Regions from separate parts of the Homo sapiens genome. Here region 2 is linked to region 1. Evidence: promoter capture Hi-C in 16 types of primary human blood cells and fetal thymus (Javierre and others, 2016). All regions are on one chromosome and are shown on one strand. Each heading gives the region's core, a stretch centred on a gene start or on the middle of the fragment in contact. The rest is flanking DNA. Distances are from core to core; before and after follow the strand shown. Region 1 holds the start of ST8SIA3 (ST8 alpha-N-acetyl-neuraminide alpha-2,8-sialyltransferase 3). Region 2 has its middle 20 kb from the start of BOD1L2.

Region 1 (7,186 bases), core at 3,429-5,928:
TCTCATAAAATAAAATGGCCAATTGGTTCATTGATAAATTAAGGCACACTGGGGCTTCTAGCACGTGGACAGACTGCAGGGCCACGAGGCGCGTCGGCTGACATCCGCAGGAGCAGCTGGTGTCTCACCTCCCCACGGGCCTGGCTCCAGCTGCTTTGACATCCATTCAGTGCAAATCACATTGAGTCACTCCTCTCTGTGAACTTTGGATGGTTCTGAGCAGCGCTGCGAGAGGATCCTGACCAAGTCCTCACCATGTCCCACAGGCCCATCCCGATCTGACTGTAGTCTTCTAGGCTTTTCTCTTGCAGCAGTCACCTCCTACCTCTTGCTCTTCCCCAAGCCCACCATAATCTTTCCTGCTTCTAGTCTTTCCTTTACTTGGAATGGCCTTTCTAAACTTCTGTACCTAATGAATCCTACTCATGCTTTAAAATCCAGCTCAAATGTTGTCCCCTATGAAGAACTTTGCTAACCTCCCAGACAAAGCGTGTTGCCCAGTTTTCTCAGCAGTCCTCTAGTGTGGAGCTTTTTGCGTAGTACCTCTGTTACATTTACATCCTTCTCCCCAACAAGACCATAAGCATCGTGGGGTCAAGGATGATTTTATAACCCCTGAGTCTGCCAAGCATGGTGTCTGATAACCAACACATTTCATTGCATGAATAATTAAAGAAAACAGAAATAAATGAATGAATAAACAATGCTCTTTTTGTTTTGTTTTGTTTGAGACAGCCTCATTCTATCACCCAGGCTGGAGTGCAGTGGCGCAGTCTCGGCTCACTGCAACCTCTGCCTCCTGGGTTCAAGTGATTCTCCTTCTTTAGCCTCCTGAGTAGCTGGGATTACAGGGGCCCACCACTGCACTAGGCTAATTTTTGTATTTTTAGTAGAGACAGGGTTTCATCACATTGGCCAGGCTGGTCTCAAACTCCTGACCTCAAGTGATCTGCCCGCCTCTGCCTCCCAAAGGAACAATGTTGTTTCTAACAAAATACACCACCTTTCCTGGCCTTCCCACCTAAATGGGTTCCTGGAAATTGTTCTTGGCCAGTATGGGTTGGTGAGGGGCTAGCCAGGGAGCAGAGTCATGTTCGCAAAAGGTGGGCACTCATGAGAGTGGAAGAAGGGAAGTAAGTTCCTATGTCTAGAATAACACTCTCCTAGAAAACATTACATCTGGGGGATTTTTCATTTCTGTGCTTCTTATTTTCACTCGCCTATACTCTTGCACAGGATTGATTTCCAATGAAATTTGATAAGTGATATTTTGTTAAAATGTCCTGATTTTTTTTAATTATTAAATAGCTATAATCCCAGGCCTGAAAAATCCCTTATCCAGTAGCTACAGTTGTTTTTTGAAGCACCGCCACCAAAATTATTCCCCTGGTAATTATTGAGCAATCCGTTTTCACCCATAAGCCTGTCACATGTAATAAGGATGCCTGCCTGCCTGTTTATTTTCTGGCTAATTTGGTCCCTTTACATCATGTGACCTTCAGTGGCCTGTATGCAATATGAAAATCGTCCTCCTAGGACTTTCTTTAGAAGGTTCACAGAGGTGTGCTAAGCATAAGTAATACATCAGTTTTTAAATCCAGGCAGAGCGAACCCATATCAGATGTCTCAGGAAAGCCTGCAATGCTGTTTTATAAAGGGAACAGAAGAGTTTCTTGATCTTTGCTATTCTCTGCAAGAAAATATCTCACCTAAGTACATCCTTTCGTATGCACTCTGTAGCAGGACATTTACAGGGTCAGAGAAAAAGACACTAAAAACTTACCCAAGCTGTTAGCTCATATTTATTAACTGCTTAATATAGGCCAGGGTGCAAAGGCCTTTATATGCTTTGTTTAATCTTCCCCCAAACCCTGGGAGATTTTTATCCCAGTTCTGCAGATTAGCAGACTGAAACACAGAGAAGTTGTAACTTACCCAAGGTCACCTGGCTGTGGATGCCAGAGTAAGCATTTATTTTAATTGATACATAATAATCATACATATATAGGTACATAGTGATATTTTGATACATACAATACATAGTGATCCCATCAGGGTAATTAGCATATTTGTCATTTCAAACTTGTATCATTTCTTTGTTTTGGGGCATTCAATATCTTCTCTTCTAGGTATATGAAAATATACAATACATTATTGTAACTATAGTCATCCTATAGTGCTATAGAACACTAGAACTTATTCCTTCTATCCAGCTGTAATTTTGTATCCTTTAATAAATATTTTATCCTCTCTCCCCCGTACACTTCCCAGCCTCTAGTATTCTCTGTTCTACTTTTTACTTCTTTGAGATCAGCTTTTTTAGCTTCTGTGTATGAGTGAGAACATGCGGTGTTTAACTTTCTGTTCCTGGCTTATTTCACTTAACATAATGTCCTCCAGGCTCATTCCTGTTGCTGAGAATGACAGAATTTCATTCTTACTTATGGATGAATGGGATTCCTTTATGTATATATACCACATTTTCTTTATCCATTCATCTGTTGTTGAATACTTGGGTTGATCCATATCTTGGCTATTGTGAACAATGTGGCAATAAACATGGTGGTAGATATCTCTTTGACATACTGATTTCCGTTCCTTTGCATAAACGCCCAGTCATGGGAATACTGGATCTTATAATAGTTCAGTTTGTAGTTTTTTTCAGGTACCTCTGTACTGTTCTCCATAGTGGCTGTACTAGAATGCATTCCCACCAACAGTGTATACGAGTTCCCTTTTCTCTGCATCCTTGCCAGCATTTGTTATTTTTTGTGTTTTTGATAATACCCAGAGTATGCTTTTGAAGTCAGGTCTTTCTGGCTCCACAGTCTGAAGGTGTAACACTACCCCAGGCTGCCTCTCCATAGCATGTTTCCTGATTTCTGGTTCAAGAAGACTTTTTCTAACAGGTGTCATTCCTAGATGGCTCTCTTAAGATCTTACTCCCTTTGGCATTTTACACCTTACTCATACAATCATTTTTAAAAAATAGCAATTTAAAAAAATACAGTTCAAGTGTTCATCATATCCAGGCATGCAAGCCTTTTCTAAATTTTTTTAAATAATAAAAAAGCCCCACAGAGGAAAGGAGGTTATTTGTGTCCTCCTGACACACACTTTTAGATTTTGGTTAAAAAGTCTCTAGTGGGTGCAAAGTGACCCCCTTTGTCACTGGAAACAAATAGGAGCATTCTTTGTGCCACTGTCCACAACCACACAGATATGTTTCCCAAGGGAGCTCATCAGGTCTTCAAACATTTAGCAAGCATGACATGTGTAAGAGACAGTATTGGAGAAGTAAGACAAGCCTTGCTCTGCCGAAGCTTACAATCCAGGAGCTCACCCCTTCAAGGAATTTACAGCCTCCAGACAGATAATAACATTAGGTCCATGAAAGCCTACAAGGCAAGAAGTTCAGGAGAGAAAGAAGTCATAACCATCTTGGAAGAATCTCAACTTGTTTTATCAGAACTCAAACGCCAATTTCTCACCCCTAGCTTCCCTCATTAGTGCTTATTAACTAGTATTGGGAGGACCAAGCGAAGAGTAAAGCTAGGGTAGCAGAGGCCATAAGCTAATTGCAAAGGACAGAGCTAAAGAAACATGCTAGTTTCCCCTGAGCACCCAACTGCATGACTGAAAATGGATTAATTTGTATTTCTAATGGATATACAAGAAACACGTGAATATGCTAAAATAAATTTAAGGTCAAGCAATGCAAAGTGTTAGTGCGTTTGCCTTCCACTCTCAGAGGCAGCCTCTATTATTTGGTTCTTGGGCTGCTTCATAAAAAGTTCTGTGTTTTTTAATGGCCTCAGCTTTTGGGAGGCTCAGGCCACCTAGCCCATCAGGAGACCAGGCCCGAAGGATGGATCTGAAGAGTGGGCAACGGAGAGTTAAACCAGGGCTGACTTCAACAGGCCCAGTCAAGTCAGGGGCAAGCACATTGTCCATCCACTGGAAGACGGAAAGGGGAGAGGAAGGCAGGCCCTCCCGACTCACAGGTCACCTCGCAACTTTGCTAGGCACTACCCACCCTTTAGGGATAAGTGAAGTATGTGGTGGGCATACAAGGCGCACAGGGGAGTCATTCTGGCAAATTCCAAGAAGGTTTTAAGGGCTCCCGAGGCAGGCAGGCCCAGTTGCTGTTTGGAGCTTCCTTTGGGGTGGGAGGATGGCGGGGGCAGGGGGCCGGGGCGGTGCCTTAACGAGGGGAGATGCTTTTAAATAGCTGCCTTCCAAAAACCATCCTCCCTGCTTCTTTGAGAAGCACCCAGCTGTTGTTTACCCTCCAGGACAGCAAATCCGGTTATTTGTCTCTCTATTCCGTGATATTATAAAGTAATGAATGGTCCATTAAACTAAGTTTGGGATCCCGTCTCCCCACAGCCACCTCCTCGCCGGCACCCTCAGCCGGGGAGGCCGTAGGCTCGGGCTGCAGCCTGGCAGCCTCAGTCCCCCTCCCTCCACCATTTCCCTCTACTCCCTCCCTCTCCTGCACCCCCTCCCCCCGGTTATTTGGGAGATTAGAGTTCATTAATTAAATCCTGTGCTTAGATCGAACTGTAACATTATTCCAATCACATTTATCTTGCAGGCGGCGGAGGAGATGGCAGCCTCGCTGGAAACGCGCGGGGGAGCCTGAGCCGGCGGCCGGGGACGCACGGCGCTGCGCGCTCCTTCGCCACGCCGCCGCGCAGCCCCTCCATCTTCCTGCTCGGCACCGGGCCCCGCGCGCCCCTGCCTACGGGGTCCCGCTGCTCTCCGGGGCTCCTGCCAGCCCCAACCCCCGGCCCCGGTGGCCTCCCCCCACCCCCGCCCGGGTCCCCCTCCTCCGCCACACGCGCGCGCGCTCACACACACACACACACACACACACACACACACACACATATATACACGCCAGCGAGCTGCTGGCCGCTCAATGGACCGATTTCCCCGGTTTCCCTGAACCCAGCCCAGCCCGGGATGAGAAACTGCAAAATGGCCCGGGTCGCCAGTGTGCTGGGGCTGGTCATGCTCAGCGTCGCCCTGCTGATTTTATCGCTCATCAGCTACGTGTCCCTGAAAAAGGAGAACATCTTCACCACTCCCAAGTACGCCAGCCCGGGGGCGCCCCGAATGTACATGTTCCACGCGGGATTCCGGTGAGTGCGGGCCTCTGTGTTAGTGCCCTCGGGAATTTGGTTGATGGGGTGTTTGGGGAAGGGAAGGCGTGGGGGAGGGGTGTTTTGGCCTCTCCGAGACTCTTTGGGCCAGATAACTGCGCGGTCCTTCCACTCCTCTCTCTAATTCTCCCTTCCCCCTCCCTGTTATTTTTTTTTTAACCCAAAGCCCCTAGAAGCCGCTGTCCAAATCGATGTGATTGCATTTCTCGTATTCTTCCTCAGCATCCCTTCCCTCATTTCAGAAATGGGGGTTGGGGGAGGCTTTCAGGAGGGTGAGGGTGGAGGGAAAGACGGTGTGTTTGTTCGGGAGGGGGCGGCGAGCAGAGATGGACAGGCGTGAGGGGAGCGCCCTCCCCGCGCCCTGTCCGCAGACTCCGCGGGCCGGGCCCGGGGCGGTGCTGGCGGTTTAATGGCGCAGGCGCCGGACTCCCCTCGCGCCCTCCTCCTTTACTCCCCCACGCCTATCAAAGGACACGCGGGTTTATTCTCAGGAAGCCCCTGGGGCGTTCTCTCTCAACCCTTTCCCCCGCAGCCACCGCCCCCCACCAGCTTTCCGGGATTTCTGCAATTCCCCCGCCCCCTGCGGGAAGCGAGCCTCGGAAGGGCCGCCCACCCTCGCCAGGTCGGAGTCACCGCTCCGCGCTGGGCCGGCCTGTGAAGGCTCCAGGCGCAGCTTGACGCCGCTCTGCGAGAGCCCCCGCCCCGCTCTGTGACCCCGGGAACTCTCCCAGCAGGGCCTCCTGACGGGCAGGTGGCAACTACAAAGTGCCACCTGTGGTCCAAGCTGGGACCGAGGCGAGGAACCCAGAGGAGCCTCGCCTGGACCGAGGAGCGGAGTAGGCCGGCGGCCCCCGGGGGTCCCCAGCCAAGTTATAGGAAGTGAAATCGGACGTGGGTTTGGGAAGGAAGAGGTTAAGGCAGGAACCACCCCCAGACTTTCCCTGGGTCTCCGGTTTCCTCTGCCCTTTCTCCAAAAACAATTCTATGGGGCTGCAAAGGCGTAGCGGGTCAGGCTGGCGGGGCGGCCGCTGTCCGCGGTGCTGATTCCCTGGTCCTCGCAGCGCCGCGGGCTCCAGCCCTGCGCCCGGCGTGCGCCCTGCTCTCCGCATGACGGCCATTTTATGGTCTCTCCGGCACCCGGAGGGATGGACAATGCAGATGGGGTTCCCTAGTTTTCTTTTTTTCTCTCGGGTGTGTGTGGGAGCAGAGGGTGGACCAAATGAGAGGGGCTCCGGGACGGAACGGAGCCCGCACGCGTACCAGCCGCCCTCGCCCCAGCCGCTGCACTTTAATGGCTACCTCGGCTTCCCCGAGCTGAGGCCAGCACGCTTGTCTGTGCTCATGCTCCTCTCCAGGTCACAATTTGCGCTGAAGTTTCTAGACCCGTCATTCGTGCCCATTACGAATTCTCTCACCCAGGAACTCCAAGAGAAACCTTCTAAGTGGAAATTTAATCGGACAGCGTTTTTACATCAAAGGTAGGATAGGAGGAAAAGATCCAAAAGGTGCTTTTAAGAATTCAAGAGCTCAAAACAAAACAAAACAAAAACAAGCAAACAAAAACATCTAAAACAACAAACATCTATACGCCCCACCCTCACCATCAGGTGTATCTGCATTGTTTTCTTGGCATGACTGCACAAAGCAATGATCAGGAACCTTCTCCTGTGTGTGTAGTGTCCTCTCATAAAAAGGACATATCAGGACCAATTTGAATAGCAAAAAAAAAAAAAAGCATTCCACTTGGGCTTGATTGAGCACCATGATTTACAGCTAACAAGTCTGGCAAGTACTGCCAAAGCCATCTATTTAAAAAAAAAAAACAGACAAAAGGTTAGTTGCAAAAAGACCACCCAATGCATTTTCATTTCCTCACTGAAAAAAACTTGAAAAATAGAATAAAGTGGTATTGTTTCTTTGAAACACACGGAAAATGCCATAATCTGTCTCCATCAAATTACTCGTGAAAATGCTGGCCCAAATGTATGTAGATATTTAACTATGGTTTTGTTTTGGTT
Region 2 (7,186 bases), core at 1,259-3,758, 230 kb before region 1:
CAGCACTGATTACCATGCCGCCAGGTATATAAACCACGCCTTTGTTGGCTTGTCTCAGCCCCTTAAATCTTCCCTCGGATCTCTAGCATTGTGGTTAAAAGCACTGATTCCAGAGCCACACTCTCGTGGTTCAAATTCTGGTTCCACCACTTAATAAACGTGGGCCTGGGGAAAGTTAATTAGCCTCAGTTTCCTCATCTGTAAAGTGGGGACAATCATAATACTGACATCCTTAGATTGTTGGGAAGATTAAATAGATTAGCTTTGGTAAAGTGCTTAGAATTGTGCCTAGAACCTGGTAAGTGCCATATAAGCACTGGCCACTATTAGTTTTGGTGTAATGTCTTTATTGTTAGTTTGCTCTTAATAAACATTCAACTCTTGGAAAATAGAAACCATCAGGTTAATACCACGAATCTAACCTCTAGCATGTTTTGTTTATTCAGTTCTTACTAGTTATCATTTTGGAGAATAGAGACAAGGAATCCATAAGAAGAAGAATCCACGGGCAAGCTGTGGTGGGGACGGATAATCCCATAGGCTGGGCTGTCCAGGTGTGGCCCTGGAAGGGAGTGATCTTTCCACCATGGGGGCCTATAGTTCTTTGATAAATAGATACATTTTTAAATTTAAAAAGGTGTTTCAGCTTTTGGCTCTTTCCTGTGATTTTGAGAAAAGAGTCTGTCTTTTTTACTGGAGTCTTTGTCTTGGCCACTTTTCACTTCCCGTTAGATGGTGTCTAGGAAAGATTTTAAGAATTCCTGTGAGAAACAAATGTGGCTGGTGAGTCTCTCCTCTTGGCATTATGAGTTAAGTGCTCCAGCCCCAGAGGCTGTGCTTCCTGGGCTTTGCTGTAATGCAGTTGGATGTGTCAGGCTGCAAAGATGTTTGCTACAGAAGGACATTCACTCCATAAAGCCCAGGAATCTGGACGTGGGCCCCGGTGTCAATGTTAGGGAATGAGAATAATTGGATACATAGACTTCTATTTTATGCCTTGTTGAAAGCCAATATTGGTTAAGGTGGATGTTTTCCTTCCAATAACAAGTATTCATTGAGCATTTACTAAGTGCCAAGCATTGGCACCCAAAAGGCAACCAGTGTTTCCAGTGTCTTAGACATTCTTCTAGAATTATTTGATACAGGCAAACACACACACACATACACACACACACTGCAAAATTGGCAGCATAGCACACACACTGTTGTGTATCTTGCTTAACATTGTAGCTTGTAGGTCTTTCATAGCAGTACATACACTTGATTATAGCTGCTTCATTCTTTTTAATCACTGCATAGACACACCACATAGATACACCATAACTTATATCAATAATCCCCTACTGATGGACATTTAAGTTGTCTCAAATAATTACCACAAAAAATGCAGTGCATAGTCTTGTATACACATTGTTTCACAGATATATATATATACATATATACATATATATATGTATATATATATGAATATATCCGCAGGATAAGCTCCTAGAAGTGGAACTATGCGATTCTCCCTGCCCTCTTTTCTTTAAAAAACAATTTACATTCATCTTTTCTCAAGTTGGCAAGCAACAGAAATATGTGCTATTAAATGAATGAGTTGGATGTGGGAGGACAGTGTGCCAGAGAGCACTGGACTGAGGATGGGGTCGCACGGTCTTTATTTCAGTCAGGTAACTGGCTGAATGACCCTGGCCATGTCTTTTAACTTCTCTGAACCATAGTTTCTTCATTTGTGAAATGAATCATTGGGTCATTCAAGGCTGGGGAAGAAATATTCATGAACCTAGCATCTTTTTAGAGCATTTACTGTCCTGAGGTCCACTGTAGCTTTCCCCTCATACTTTCAGGCTTCTCCTTGCCGAACTATGTGAGGTCTTGGTCTTGGGTTCTATTAATTTCTGGAGGTTGGTAACCGCTCCAAATGGCTAGCTCCAAGGCCAGCTCCCATTTTGTAAGAACATGTGGTGCAGTGAAAATAGGCCTGGAGAGTTGAAGAGTCCAATCTGGGCTCTTGCGCCAGCTCCATGACACTGGGAAGTTATCTTCTCTTGTAGAACTTCATTCCATTGTTAAGTGGATAAGCCCAGTGAGGTTTTGAAGTTCCAAAAAAGGGCAAAGCCTCATCTCTTACCTTTTACACAGGGACTTTTTGCAGAATAAACATGCCTTATTGTGTTCAGTTTTCAAACATGACTGAGTCCCTATAAGCTTCCTTCCTTCCTGTGGCCACTGTTTGCTCACAGTGGTCGTGGGTCGACTAGAGGAACCCCAGGTAGAGAGAGGAAAGAGAACTGCTGGTGGGAGAGATTAGGCTAATCCCCATAAACCAGCAGGGCCATTAGTGAAATCTTTTCTCAGGATTCCGTCTGTGGTGTCATTGTGACAGAAACCATTTATTACCTGAAGTATGTCCTGAGCCTTCCCAAGAGTAAAGTTGTTCAGAAAACACTGACCTGAGTGTAGGCACCAACGGAAGACCTGAGCAACCTGGAACAACTCCACGCACAGGAAGCCCTTAATTGTTCAGTGATCTGCATTAAGGACTAGTGGCAAAAGGAGAACTTCATGAATGAAAGACCACTACTGGCTGGTAATGGAAGTGTAAACATTACCTTAATGAATGAACTTTGCTAATAATATCATGTTATAAATATTTTAGCTCGAGTTCAGCATAAAGGGATGATTAAGGAAGGTTGAGGGAGTCCATAAACAGAGAAATAGATGGGGTCTTAGCAAAAGGATTTGACTGATGAAATTTTACAAAGTTGAGAAACGTAGATGAATAGAACTTACTGTTGTATAGAAGCTTCTTAAAGTCTCACCTTCTAACAGAATCTTTTTCCATCCTTGAACTGATTTGTCAACATGGACATTCCCATTTTCCTTAATGTTCAGTCTAGGGAGAATCTCACACTAGCACCATCCTCGGATGGGAAAGAAGCTCAGGTGGCTCCTTAAATTGAAGGCTCCTTCTGCCTTCAGGCCATCTGAGACGGCTCTCCTGGGACCCAGCCCATGCAGGCTGCTCAGAAAATGGTTACTATATTGGTCAGATCTTGTCCAAATCAAGCCCCGAAGACATATGCTTGGACATTTTTGGAAGCTCAGTGTATGGGAAATTGGCATCTAGGTCAGACTTTTCACCATACAGCCACAACATGGAGCTTAACTACTATTCTCACTTCCAGGGCTTTCTCACCTGATCCAGCTCCGTTCTTCCCCATGATCACAATGCACCCTCCCGACCTCTGCCCTTGTTGTCTCAGTCATTCTATGCTTACAGACTCCCTGGTCACTGACCACCTTGGGTTGGGCTTCCAGTGATGCTAGTTCTGGGCTCTCTCCTGCTAACCAGAAACTTTCTCTGTCTGCATTTGCCCCATATCCAGATGCCAGGCTTAGAGACTGAGGCTTTGGGAAAAGAACTGCTGAGGCAGTGGCAAGAGACCCAGCTGTGGGCTTGTGAAGGAAGGGAAGTTCTTTGTGCAATCATAGCCATCCCTTCTGTCTGTCTGTTGTTGCCTTTCTCTCCTTGGTTCTTTTCCAGCTCCTTAGACCCTAACTTTCATGGCTCCCCCTGCATGGCTGTGTCACCCTGCAGGTTGACTTCACTCACTAGTTGGCAGCGGGTATGACCCACAGCCTCTCACTGGTTGATCCCACTCTGTTTTAAGCTGGTGTCTAACTTTAGAGCTTAGCCCTTTTCACGTTGCTTCTGACCTATCTGATGGCCCAGCCCTGCTCTGGTGTGTATGTGAAGGGTGGAGGAACCTTTGTCTTCCTCACCTTCAGGTTTCCATATGGTGGAGTAGTGCTGGGGTGAACTCTTGGTCTGCTCTCCACCTCCTTCAGGGTGTGTGGTGCAATCAGCTGGAGTCTGGATCTGCGAGGCCACAATTTCCAGAGGCAGGATCCTTCCATGGAAACAGACAACATGGGCCCATCTTTCTTGCTGTCCCCTAATCCTGCCTGCTGTCCATTACATTGTGCTTTCTCTTCAAATTCCCAGCATCTCCACCCAGGTTCATTCACATTTGGGTGGCAGGTAGGGTTCCCTGAAGGCTCTACAGATGAACCTTCTCAGACCCTCACACTTTGGGTTTAGTAGGAAATATTTTGATCATTTTTAGGCAAATACGGTCTACTTATCAACTGGACAGAACCTGGGAGGGAAGAAAAAGTAAAGAATAGGATCTCCACACTTCCAGGAGGTAGCAAGAATTAAGATGCCATTGATTGCTTCTCTGCTCTGTTGCTAACTCCCAGAGCTTCGCTGGTTTAATTCATTCTAATAGCTTCCTGGCTGCAGCCCCCAGGAAAGTGACCTTCTGATTTATAAATTCTGGGCTGGGCACAGTGGCTCACTCCTGTAATACCAGCACTTTGGGAGACCAAGGTGGTTGGATTGCTTGAGCTCAGGAATTTGACACCAGCCTGGGCAACATAGCAAGACTTTGCCTCTGCAAAAGATACAAAAATTAGCTTGGCATGGTGGTCACCACACCTGTGGTCCCAGCTACTCTGGCAGCTGAGGTGGGTGAATTGCTTGAATCCTGGAAGTCAAGTCTGCAGTGAGCTGTGATCATGCCAGTGAACTCCAGCCTGGGTGATAGAGTGAAACCCTATCTCAGAAAACGAACAAACAAACAAACAAATAAACAAAACATAAATCCAACTTCCTTCCTAAGGAAGTCTTCCTGTACCCCTTTGGGCAAGGGACCTCTCTCAGGCCACATAGTGGACATAGGTGCTGCGTCCTCTTTTGCAATCACACAAGAGCAACCTCTTTCTCCCTTCCACCTGTCCACCCTTCCAGAGCAAAAGACACCGGCAAGTATCCATGTTCTTGTTCTGAGGGGCATGCCATCAGGATTCTGCAATGCTGATTTCAGCACCATCCTGCTGGACTATGAAAATGTCTGGTGCCTTCTGGGCATTTTATCTACTTGGAGGATCAAGTGCATCAACCTGGGAAATCTTTGGCTGCCAGTGCCATTGGGCCACAGCCCGCCCTGTGGTGACCTTTCCCACCGCCTTCCTGCAGACACACAGCAGGTCCCCAGAGATGGCTGTCAACTGCAGCAGCCACCACATAAAATCAGGTTCCGGTATTGCTGAAGAGCTTCACCTTGCCTTAATACAGCGTCCGGGGGAAGGTTTGCCAGGACCAGACAATGCCTTCCTCTTTGTCTCCCTTCTCAGCTCTATTTTTCTGCCTGTTCCTGACTTTGTTCTTTGTTAGAAAGGTCCAGAGTGGCAGAGCAGTGGCTGCTGTTGTGCAAGACATGTAATTTTGACCCCTTCTGCTCCTAAAAAAATCAATACTCCTTTTGAGCCTCTGTGAAGAGTGTTTTATAGCATCCCTCTGAGAAGCCCCGATCTGTAAAAGCTGATATTATCTGATGACCCTTCTCATACTTACACAGTCTTTTTTTTCACAAAATATTTCCAGAACCTCACCTTCCTCTATAGCTGAGACCCTACTGCACATGTCTGCTTTGTGACATGCAAGTATAGTACATCTTATCTGTCCAGTTTGGATAGAAAAGCTCCTTATTTATATACCTGAAGGCACTGGGGTGTAACAAAGGTCATTGGCTGACATGGGCACCCTCAGCGAGATGGGAGCCTGAAGTAGCACAGCCGTGTTAAACACAGGATAGGGAGTCAGCTGAGGGCTCGCTATGGAGTTGGAGAAAAATTCATCGGCTTGAGAATGTCACCTGTTGCTGGTTCCAGCCTTCACCAGTGTTGCCTCAAAGATAGAAAGCACCTCGGTTTGACCTTCCCTATTGTACATGTCACATCTCAAGAGGAGAAACAAGACATCACTGAATCGCAAAGTTCCAGAGCTTGAAGAGACTTCAGAGATCACATAATGCAGATGTCGTGAACTGGTGACCAGATATATCCCCATGATGGATGTGTCTTTTTTGACCTTTGTAGTGTTTTGGATTGTTTCTTGGTTTATTTGTGTTAAGCTGAATTCATCATCAATATTTTACATCAGGAGCCTTCAAATAAGAATAAAGTTTGAGGGATTTTCTTTAAAAATTGGAAGTGCCAGCAGCTCTGTTCCTATTCTTGAGTAGGAATAGGTGAACAGTCTTTCACAGCTCTGGCAGCTCTTATTCCTGAACAGTCTACCCAATGGCCTAGCTCACTTCTGGTGAAGGCTTAAGGCACCTGGGTTGGTAGTCCCTCACCTAAAATCAGCCCCTCCCCATTTTCCCATATGGAAACACAGGATCCTGTTATAAAAGGTGAAGGTGAGTTCACTTCCCCAAGTCTCACAGGGACTAAGTGGCAGAGCTCTTGTGGAGTTCTCTCTGGTTGTGGGGAACTATGTCTCATGTACCATATGGGTCTTCAGTGAGATTGTTGTGGTTTCCAAGAACCTTGTTAGAGCTTTGTGATGAAGTGGCCTGTAGAGATGGCTTATTTTACTTCTGAAGTCGCCTCCAGACAGCTGGGGCAGTCAAGTCTCTGATTTCTGTGTTTGTTTCCTCCCAAATATTATTTTCTTAATACATTCAAAAAATAATACTGAGAGTTTCTTACCACTAGATCTATCCTGCAAGAAATGATAAAGGGAGAAGTCTGTCCCTCAGATTGAAATGAAAAGAAGCTAGATGGCCAGGTGTGGTGGCTCAAACCTATCTCAGGCTTTGGAATGTGGAAGGGAAAGGATGGCTTGAGGCCAAGAGTCCAACACCAGCCTGGGCAACATAGAGAGACTCTGTCTTTACAACAAATAAAATAAAAATTAGCTGGATATGGTGTTGTGCATGTATAGTCCAGGCTACTCAGGAGGCTGAGGCAGGAGGATCATTTGAGCCCAGGAATTGAAGGCTGCAGTGAGTTATTATAGCATCCCTGCACTCCAATCTGAGTGACTGACACCCTATCTCTAAAATAATAAAAAGAAGAAGCTAGACAGTAATTTGAAGCCATATATAGAAATACAGGTCTCCAGTAAGGGTAAATATATGAGCAATTATAAGGCTAGTATTATAAATTTGATGTGTAAATTCACTTTACATTTTCTACATGATTTTAAAAAGTAATGCTAATGGAAACCAGATAAAATCACTACAGAAGAAAACCAATCACTCATAATTGCACTATTCAGGGAAAATTGCTGGCTGCAACTTATTGGGCTTACTGGTCATTTTAATATTTG

Evidence for each region. The method cuts DNA at HindIII sites, captures the fragments that hold promoters and counts their contacts. A CHiCAGO score of 5 or more calls a contact.
Region 2: a fragment that was not itself captured here is called in contact with the fragment with the promoter of ST8SIA3 in region 1 in 1 of 17 cell types (endothelial precursors); the score reaches 6.3 in endothelial precursors.

Annotation. Positions count from the first base shown.
Region 1 is chr18:57,347,879-57,355,064 of GRCh38, forward strand. It overlaps ST8SIA3 (ST8 alpha-N-acetyl-neuraminide alpha-2,8-sialyltransferase 3), which reads left to right and starts at 4,679. Exons shown (of 4, transcript NM_015879.3): 1 at 4,679-5,147; 2 at 6,524-6,646. The coding sequence starts at 4,969. The HindIII fragment of the contact is 6,120 bases long and covers 3,322-7,186 here.
Region 2 is chr18:57,123,517-57,130,702 of GRCh38, forward strand. No RefSeq gene overlaps it. Among named protein-coding and RNA genes, the nearest start is that of BOD1L2, 20 kb to the right of the region's middle. The HindIII fragment of the contact is 598 bases long and covers 2,210-2,807 here.